Linked DNA regions of Homo sapiens: region 1 is linked to region 2. The links are contacts of gene promoters, found by promoter capture Hi-C in human tissues and cell types (Jung and others, 2019). All regions are on one chromosome and are shown on one strand. Each heading gives the region's core, a stretch centred on a gene start or on the middle of the fragment in contact. The rest is flanking DNA. Distances are from core to core; before and after follow the strand shown. Region 1 holds the start of MAPKAPK5 (MAPK activated protein kinase 5). Region 2 holds the start of SH2B3 (SH2B adaptor protein 3).

Region 1 (4,727 bases), core at 981-3,480, 440 kb after region 2:
TTTCCGCTGGGGAGAGCATAGGCACAGAGCCACACTTAAATTTTACTTTGAGGAATGCAGTGTAGGTGTATGTCCGACAAAGAAAACAATAATTCGGTAGACAAATAAGTCTCCACTCCAATATTCAATTACTTACTTAACTTATGCTCTGGTATGTCTCAAATTAACCTAGATAGAAATGAACTCTGAATCTTCCACTTCCATCAAGTTTTTCACTCACTCAATGGCATCATTATCCATCCAGTTGCTTAAGCATACATTTGAAAGTTATCCTTGGTCTGTTTCTTATCCTTCCCTTCCACATCTAATCCTTCAGGAAGTCCTGACAATGTTACCTCCAAAATATGTCTTAAATCCATCTTCTCAGCCAGGCACGGTGGCTCACGCCTGTAATCCCAGTACTTTGGGAGGCCAAGGGAGGTGAATCACTTGAACTCAGGGGTTGGAGAGCAGCCGGGGCAATGTGGAGAGACCCAATCTCTACAAAAAAAATACGAAAAATTAGCCAGGCATGGTGGCATGCGCCTATAGTCCCAGCTACTCAGGATGCTGAGGTGGGAGGATCGCCTGAGCCCAGGAGGTCTAGGTTGCAGTGAGCTGTGATCACGCCACTGCACTCTAGACAGTGGGACCGTTTAAAAAAAAAAATCCATCTTCTCTACACCTTTACCGCCACCTCCTTAGTTCAGACAGTGTAATAATCTCTCATCTGCATTATTCTCCAATAGCCTCCTAATAGCTCTGTTTCCATTCTTGCTTTCCTATATTCTATTCTCTACAAAGCAGAGTGATCTTTTAAAACAAATTTGTTCACATCACTCTTTACTTTAAAACCTTACAATAGCTTAGAATAAAATCCAAAGTCCTGATTATGACCCCCAAAGGCCACATATGATGCAGCCCCTGCCCACATCTCCAACCTCATCCTTTTTATACTTTTTTTTTTCTTTTTTTGAAATAGAGACGGGGTTTCGCCATGTTGGCCAGGCCGGTCTCGAACTCCTGACTTCAAGTGATCCGCCCGCCTTGGCCTCCCGAAGTGCTGGGATTACAGGCGTGACCCACCGCGCCCAGCCTCCAACCTCACCCTTTATCAGTCTCCTCCTACTCGATCTACTCCAGCTACAATGACCTTCTTGCTGATTCTTGAACATATTTAGCTTATTTCCACCTTAAAATTTCTACCCATCTGCCCAGAAATCTTTCCTTGGATTTCCAATAGCCAGCCCTTTCTCATTCCTCAGGGGTCTCAGCTTAAATGTTACCTCCTGAGATTCCTTCCTTAATCATCTAATACGAAGAAGTCCCCACATCCAGTTATTCTCTTACCTCAGCATCCTGTTTATGTTCTTCTTAGCATCAGACTCGGGCTTTTTCCTGTTTATTACCTACTTCGTTTTCCTGAAAGATCCATGTGCCGGTACCATGTGTTGTTCCTACTGTTTCTCCAATGTCTAGTAGATTTGGCACATACTGATGTGCAATTAATACGTGAATGAAGAACCATTGACAGACGATTAGTCAAAAGCTCTTGCAAAGCCCTTTGATAGGTTATCGGTGGAGAGTAGGGAGCACAAACCTGGGGTCCCATTCTAGCTTGACCACTTCTCGGCTGTGCACAAACTAGTCTAGCTCTCCTGAGCCTCAGTTACCTATTTTGCAAATTAGGGATGGGAACATCCATACCTCACGACGCCAAACGGCTACCTTGTAAAGACGAAAGGAGGAAATGCAGGAAATAACTCCACGTAAGGTTAATGCTCCGTAAACAGAGCTGCTACTGCTATTATATATTCTATACAATCCTGCGCCCTTAACGGCAGGACCCTTTCAGTGCTTCAGTCCTGTCTTCTCTCTCCTGGGTTGACCTCCACAGATCCTCTCAGAAGAGCGTTTTCCAGGCGTGAATCTCCGCAGAGTGGAGATAAAGGCTGAGGCCCCAACGCACGCGCACTCACGCGAGTCCGGGCCTATGACGTCATTAGCGCAGCGCCATCGCCGCGGAAGGCCCAGGGGCCTGTCCTGTATGCGGCGTGTCTTAGGGAGGCCCAGGCGGACGCCTGCAAGTCGGGTGCGCGGTTCGGGGGCGGCTCGGAAACCCCAGCGGAAGGCAGCAAGGGGCGCGTGGGGCCGTGGAGTCACGAAGCTGGGCGGCAGGAGGGGCGGCCTGGAGCTCCCGCGGGGCACAGCGCGTGCGTGAGGGCGGCCGGCGGGGCTGCCCGGCGCGGGTGTCCCGGCGATGTGTGGCGCTGAGGCGGCGGCGGGAGCAGCGGCGCCGAGCTCTGCTTCGGCTTCGGCTTCGGCTTCGCGGCGGTGCAGGCGGCGGAGGCGGAGGCGCAGGCTCTTCTTTAGGACCTGGCGAGCCCAGGTCTAAGCGGCGGCCCCGCGAGGCCCTTGCACGGCGCCCCGGGTCGAGGCCCTCCCCGCCTCGCCCTACCCCAGGAGCCTGCCTCCCCAGCTGGGGATGAGGCTAGGAGGCGGCCGCGTGGGGCCCAGCACAAAGACCTGTCCCCAGGGGCCGCCGCCTCCGCCGCTGCTGCTGCCGCCAGCCTAGAGCCGCCCGCCGAAGCAGAGCCGGCGCCGGGGTCCTCATCCCCACCGGTCCCGAGGGGCGGCTGCTGCCCGTCGCCACGAGGCCCAGGGGCCCGAGTGCCGAGCCCTTTGCTCCCTCGGCCGCGCGGGGACAGGGCTGCTGAGCAGCCTCCGCCTCTCCCGGCTGTGGGGGCCCCACTGAGTATGTCGGAGGAGAGCGACATGGACAAAGCCATCAAGGTAAGGGGGAGGTGCCCCCTCTTCCCCCGCGTTGTCCTGTGGCGTTCTTCTCGGCTCTAGCCTCAAAAAGCAGGGAGATTTTGCAGTGAGAGGTTCCATCGACTACCGGGTTTCGGCCTCCCCCGGATTCCGTGGATCGCGCTTTACAGCCCTGGGGCCAAGGGTTATGGGTGTGGGTGTAGGTGTGTGTCCGACTCCCGCCAGCTTCCCTGGTGAGTGTGATTTGTGCTCAGCTGGAACAGAGGTGAGTGGCCTGGAGACACTATTAAGTGTCAATGAATGGGACGAAGAGAGCCCTACTACTACTACTACACGTTTCGATCACTCCCCAAGGCCGCCAGCATTTGCTTCCGGATGGTCTACAGAACTTGGAGAGTTGGAATTTATCCATCCCTCCCGATTTGTTTGAAATCAGCCTTCTGGAAATCTGCAGTTGGAAAAAGGTGGTTCGCCGTACAAAACCTGTCCTTTGGGGAATAGGTTGTCCTCACTTTTCCGTGTATTCTCCCCTTTTTCTTTTTCCTCTTCTTTCTCCTAGGAAGCATTGAGTTTACTTAGGAAAAGTTAACAGTTCCTGTGACTTAACTGCACTTAAACCAAAAGAAAAGCAAATGTGTGTTCGAAAATTACACAAATAAAATAAGTTTTCTAAAACCTGTTTTTAACTTTTTTTTTTTTTAAAGGCACATTTTGCCCACTCAGGGCCAGTTATCTGTCTTGACAGCTGTAGCTAAGAAATTAGTCTTATGAAAATTAAACATTGACGCTTAAAGTTTGATGTATTATTTACTTATTTGTAGTGTTAAGTCAGCCCAGTGCATTGAATAATTTCATTTTATCTTGAAGGACAGGCATCTATTGGCAGCTTGGGGTTATTTTCCCCTTCAAGACAGTTACTAGTAATGATTAAGAATTTACATTTCTACCAATTCTTTAGGTGGTGTATATAGTTTCTCAAAATCATCAAGTCATTCCAAAGAAACTTAACCCTTTAAAGGAGGCATCAACATATAACATATACATTAAGGAAGACCAGGTTTTTTGTCTGTTTGTTTGTTTTTGAGACGGAGTCTCACTCTGTCGCCCAGGCTGGAGTGCAGTGGCCCGATCTTGGCTCACTGCAAGTTCCGCCTCCTGGGTTCACGCCATTCTCCTGCCTCAGCCTCCCGAGTAGCTGGGATTACAGGCGCCCACCCACCACGCCCTGCTAATTTTTTCTTTTGTTTGTATTTTTAGTAGAGACGGGGTTTCACCGTAATAGCCAGGATGGGCTCGATCTCCTGACCTCGTGATCTGCCCGCCTTGGCCTCCCAAAATGGTGGGATTACAGGCGTGAGCCACCGTGCCTGGCCCAAGGAAGACGAGGTTTTAAATCATAAAGATTCTAAAAGACTGCCTTGACATATCCTTCTTTTGTTTTGGGTTTTGTTTTTTTTTTTGAGTCGGAGTCTGGCTTTGTCATCCAGGCTGGAGTGCAGTGGGATGCTCTTGGCTCACTGCAACCTCCACCTCCCAGGTTCAAGTGATTCTCCTGCCTCAGCCTCCCCAGTAGCTGGGACTACAGGCACGTGCCACCACACCCAGCTAATTTTTTTGTATTTTTAGTAGAGGTGGGGTTTCACTGTGTTAGCCAGGATGGTCTCCATCTCCTGACGTCATGATTTGCCCGCCTCGGCCTCCCAAAGTTCTGAGATAACAGGTGTGAGCCACCGCGCCCAGCCTTGGTTTGGGTTTTATTGGCACAGAGGCATGATATGCCGCCTGAAGTTATTTAATTGGGTTGTGAATCAAAGCGTATGTGGCCAGTTTTTAAACATTGTCTCCTGTGTGCCAGATGGTGTCCTAGACACAAATGGTACAAGCCAGACTCCTAGATGTCCCTACTGTCATGTAGCTTATATTCTAGAGGGTGGGGTTACTGCTAGGTGGTTTTAATTAAGTGTGGAAAGGGTGAG
Region 2 (4,630 bases), core at 1,014-3,513:
AAATAATATGGGATGATCCATTCAGACTTTTTTTTTTTTTTTTTTTAGAGACAGAGCCTACCTCTGTCTCCCAGGCTCGAGTGCAGTGATGCAATCTTGGCTCACTGCAGTGTCCACCTCCCAGGTTCAAGCGATTCTTCTGCCTCTGCCTCCCCAGTAGCTGGGACTACAGGTGCGTGCAACCATGCCTGGCTAATTTTTGTATTTTTAGTAGAGACAGGGTTTCACCCTGTTGACCAGGCTGGTCTCAAACTCCTGACCTCAGGTGATCCGCTGGCCTCAGCCTCCCAAAGTGCTGAGATTGCAGGTGTGAGCCACTACACCCGGCCTCGTTTAGACTTCATTGACATTCCCCCACCCCACCCCTCTTCCCACATCCTCAGATGCCGTGTGAACAGCTTGAATCCCACACTCCACAGGTCCTTCTCCTCACAACCCTCCATGGCACCCTACTGCCTTCAAAATAATTCCCAAAGTCCCCACCAAGACCTTCAAGACACCATGTGATGGGCCCACCTTTGAAACATCATCTCTTACCAGTATAGGTGTCACCACTGCCTTTATGACTTTATTCCAAAGCACCACATGTATTCCCACCTCAGCACCTTTGCACATGCTGTTCCTTTGGCCTGGAATGCTCTTCCCTCAGACGTTATAGCACCTGGATCCTTCTTGTCATGGAGGGTTCTAAGCTCACATGTTAGTTCCGCAGAGGTGTCCTTCCTGAGCCCTGGATCTAAGACATCCCCTTCCAGCTCTCCATCCCGTAACTGTTTTGTCATTGTCATAGCTGATCCCACTTGCTTATTCGTGCCTTATGTCCCCCCACTAGAATATCAGCTCCACGCAGGCAGGGATATCTGTGTTGTTCACTGCTGTGTTCCCAGCGCCTAGAACAGTGCCTGGAAATGTGCGGAAAGCAGATTTTTGTGGCCTTTTTCTTCAAGGTCATTGGACACCAGGAATCCTGTAGCAGACCGCTCCCTTCCCCCATCTACTCGGAGTCTGGAAATCCCCACCTTCTGGGGAACCCCTTCCTGTAGTTCTAAGGTCAGGACTGGGGCCGATTTGTTTAACACAGAGAGCTTCCTGGAGCCAAGCCTCGAGCTAACTGCTTTAATGCATTAACTCACTTAATTCTCACTGCCAGGAGAGTGGGTACACATTATTTCCATTTCATAGGCAAGGAAGTGGAGAGGTACGGAGAAGTCAAGTCATTTGCCCGGGTAGGAAGAGGGGGAGGCAGTGGAATGGAGACACTTGCTGCCTGGGAAGACTCGAGGTGGCCCCTCCAAGCTGGGGGCGTGGGCGACTTGTTTCCTGTTGGGGGAGGGGGAGAAGAGTACATTCCTCCCTCCCCGCCCTCCCACATGTTGGGGGAGAGGCTGGCTGAGAGCATGTCCCACTCCGGACTAGGGGGAACCCCACTGTCCGTCTCAGCTCCCCATGAGGCCGTGGAGAAAATGTAAGTAGCCCGGGGGCGGGCAGGGGGGTGGGCGCAGAGGCCACGGAAGCCAGCGGTCGGAGAGGGCTTCCTGGAGAAAGATGCACCCCTCCTAGAATTGGGGGACAGGACGGGCGGCCGGAGCGAGGCTGGGCTATACGGGCACCGGCTGTAGCAAAGGCAAAGCTGAGGGCTGGGGCCAGAACCCAAATCGGGGGCCTGGGGCCGTGGCGGGTCGGGTCAGCATGATCGCAGATAGTCAGGGTCGGGCAGGGCTGGGCTCCCTCCCTGGGGCGATGATGAAAGCCGTGGTCGCTATTGCACCGCCCAGCCCTGCGGGCACTGATAAGGCCCTGCAGGAGGGAGTCAGCAAGGGCGCGCCCCCTGGAGGCCAGGCCCCTCGACCCTGCCCGCCCTAGGCCCCGCCCCTTCATCTGGCCCCGCCTCCAGGCGCTGAGGCACCTGGTGACCTGCCGGCGTTGAGTGGGTGGGGCTAAAGTCGCCCCGCCCCTCCGATCCTCACTTCTATCTTCAGACTGTGGGACGCGAAATCGGGTGGGCACGTGGTGGGCGTGGCTTCGCAAGGCCTCGCCTTTTTCCGGACCCGCGCCAGGAGAGCCCTCCGACCCTGGCAGCCGCGGACTAGCGGGATTGGTAGGCGGGGCCAGTCCGGGCTCCGCCCTCATGGCCCGCCCCTCCAGCCGAATCTCCGACTCGCGCGCGGCCTGAGGCGTGGCTCCTGGTGGCCCCGCCCCTGCCCCGCCCCTGTCGCGGCCGGCCTCCCCCGCCGGGCTCCGCTCGCACGGCCGGTTCCTCTTTACATAACGGCGCGGGGCGGCATGGGCCCGGGCCACCGCCTCCGCCCGGCTGCCCGCCCGGACTGTCGCGGCCCGCGGTGGCGACGGCGGCCGCTGCAAAGTTTCCCCGGCGGCGGCGGCCCGGGGGCGCATCCTCCCGCAACTGTCAAGCGCTGGCGGCGGAAATGATGAGGCGCTGGCCATTTTCCGAGCCCGGGTTTCCTGCCTGAGCCCCGCTCGAGCGAGCCGCGAGCGAGGAGCCGGCGGGCGGGAGAGGACGCGCCCAGGGCGGGGGCCCGCCCGCCCCCTCGGGATTTCGAGGGCCCGGGGGCGCGCGACGCCATGGGCCGGCCGGGCCCAGAGCTCCTGTCTCTCAGGTGAGCCCGCGTTTGCCCGCGCTCCCCTCCTCCGGGGCCGGGAGGGCTTTTGTGGGGAAAGAGGAGGCCCCGTGTCCAGTTCTGCCCGGGCTCTGCGCGTCACCCCCAGCCCAAAATACTGCCCTGCAGCCAACTCGGATGGAGGCGTTCCGGGGTGACGGCTCCCAGCGCCTACGACCCCCCACTCAGCCACTACCCCCACCCACACACGTGTTAGGGAGAGCGTTGGGGTAACTGAGGCCGTGGGATGGGGGAGAGGGCATCGCTGACGCCCCCAGCCCACCCTACGGTAGCCTCGCCGGTTGGGGGCGGCCCTCCCCTCAACTTGTGCCTGGGGAGGAGCGGTCAGGGGTCACCCATTGCTACCCTGAAAGTGAAAGTAGTCAAACTGAGGCTGTGAGCACAGATGAGCCCTTGGGTGTGGGGGCAGCGGGGGAGGATGCGCCGGCCCCTCCCCACTCCCCATTCCGGGCCATGTGGCTAAGAGGGTAGCGCCCTGATTCAGGAAGCCCCTCTCCCCAGTTCCTGCACTGCCGAGGTCGACCGGGCCAGGCCCCCGCATGCTGCTGAATTGGGCGGTTCACCAGGGCTAGGCGTCCCAGAGACAGGTTTCTGGTATTGATCCTCTCACACCTCTTGCCTGGGGTTCCCTGGGAATCCCCCGACCAAAAAACGTCTGGAGTGGGTGTTGGTCTTCTAGATCCGCACGGTAGGGATGGTATTTCAGAGGTCTCTGATGCCTGGTGCAGAAATCCCCTTCCCTCCCTTCCCTCCCTCCGGCCAGGGGAGCTTTGTTTTGAGGGAGGGGGACTGCATTTGAGGAACTGGAGAGGAGGGTCTGCCTGCCTGTCCCGCTTCTTTTTTTCTTTAGTTTCCTCATTCTCCTGTTTCTCTTCCCCATTCCCAGCCACAATGATGTAGGTGAGGAGGTCACTGCCTGCAGCTGGGGGCCTCCAGGGAGGGGCACGGCCAGGCTGGGCTGAGTGGGAGGAAGTGAAATCTGGTGGGGGGTTCAGAGCAGAGGCCCCGGCAAGGCAATGTCGGCAAGGCCAGCTTTGGTGGCAGGAGGGACCGAGATCTGACCCGCAGCCCCTCGCCGGGGAGATGACAGTTCCCTAACACCGGCTAGCAGCCAGGCCTCAGGGCCCCTGCCAGGGCAGTGGGCCTGTGGGTCTCCAGGGATGCAGGCGCAGGTTGTGTCTGGGTTTCCCATCACTGACCTGGCTGCCTGAGTGGAAACAGCTCTGGAGGCTCCTCGGGACCTGCCCTCGTGGAGGGAGAGCCGTCAGAGGCCACCTGGGCAGGCTGGGCTCGGAGGATGAGAGCCAGGGCCTACTGGGGGAAGTTGGAAGGGTTTTTAGTGCACTTTTCCTGAGCCTTTTCCCACTACCCCCTCTGGGAGGGAAAATCCTTCTGAGCCAAAGGGTGAGCATTCCTAGAACTTTTGTGAGTCCCTGTGGGCCACAGAGCGGCCAGCTGGGAAGGGGCTGGCTCAGAGCATCAGCAGCTGGGGGCTCAGGGTCTGCAGGGGCTCAGCAGGAAGTGGAGGAGGATAGTGAGGAGGGTCCTGGAGACTGTGCTTTGCTACTCCTATTGCCTTCGTTCAGCTGAAGGCGTGGGCAAGTGACTCTGCCCTCAGTTTCCCTCTGTGTAAAATGGGGGAGTAACAGGTTTGCAGTGGAGATTTAATGAGCCAGTGTGTAATGAGCACCTGCTGCCTGGCAAAGAGAGGTTCAGTTGCAGGTGGTGGTGGTGGTAGTGGTGATTTTATCATTGCCTTCATTAGTGTTACTGTTATTGGCTATGAGGTGTTCCTTCAGTAGTCTCCCTTGAGCATCTCTTGCATACATAGCACTGGAATTTCCTGGGTCTTTGGGAGCAGAATTTTGAAGATCTGGGCACTTCCTTAGCTATAAGGCCTTGCTTAACTGCCCCACCTCAGTTTCCTCATCTGTGAAATGGGTGTGCTAATAGTACCTACTTCCTAGAGTCATGGGAACCATGAATGAGTG

Evidence for each region. The method cuts DNA at HindIII sites, captures the fragments that hold promoters and counts their contacts. A contact is called where the count stands out against the background at its distance.
Region 1: the fragment with the promoter of MAPKAPK5 here is called in contact with the fragment with the promoter of SH2B3 in region 2 in 1 of the 25 tissues and cell types used here (liver).

The regions. Positions count from the first base shown.
Region 1 is chr12:111,839,998-111,844,724 of GRCh38, forward strand. MAPKAPK5 (MAPK activated protein kinase 5) reads left to right here and starts at 2,231. Exons shown (of 14, transcript NM_003668.4): 1 at 2,231-2,772. The coding sequence starts at 2,737. MAPKAPK5-AS1 (MAPKAPK5 antisense RNA 1) reads right to left here and starts at 3,008. Exons shown (of 2, transcript NR_015404.2): 1 at 1,330-3,008; 2 at 1-480. RefSeq lists enhancers at 1,807-2,086, 2,817-2,916 and silencers at 2,117-2,296, 2,377-2,726, 4,408-4,576. The HindIII fragment of the contact is 25,902 bases long and covers 1-4,727 here.
Region 2 is chr12:111,403,660-111,408,289 of GRCh38, forward strand. It overlaps SH2B3 (SH2B adaptor protein 3), which reads left to right and starts at 2,264. Exons shown (of 8, transcript NM_005475.3): 1 at 2,264-2,618. RefSeq lists silencers at 1,743-1,902, 2,023-2,602. The HindIII fragment of the contact is 38,873 bases long and covers 1-4,630 here.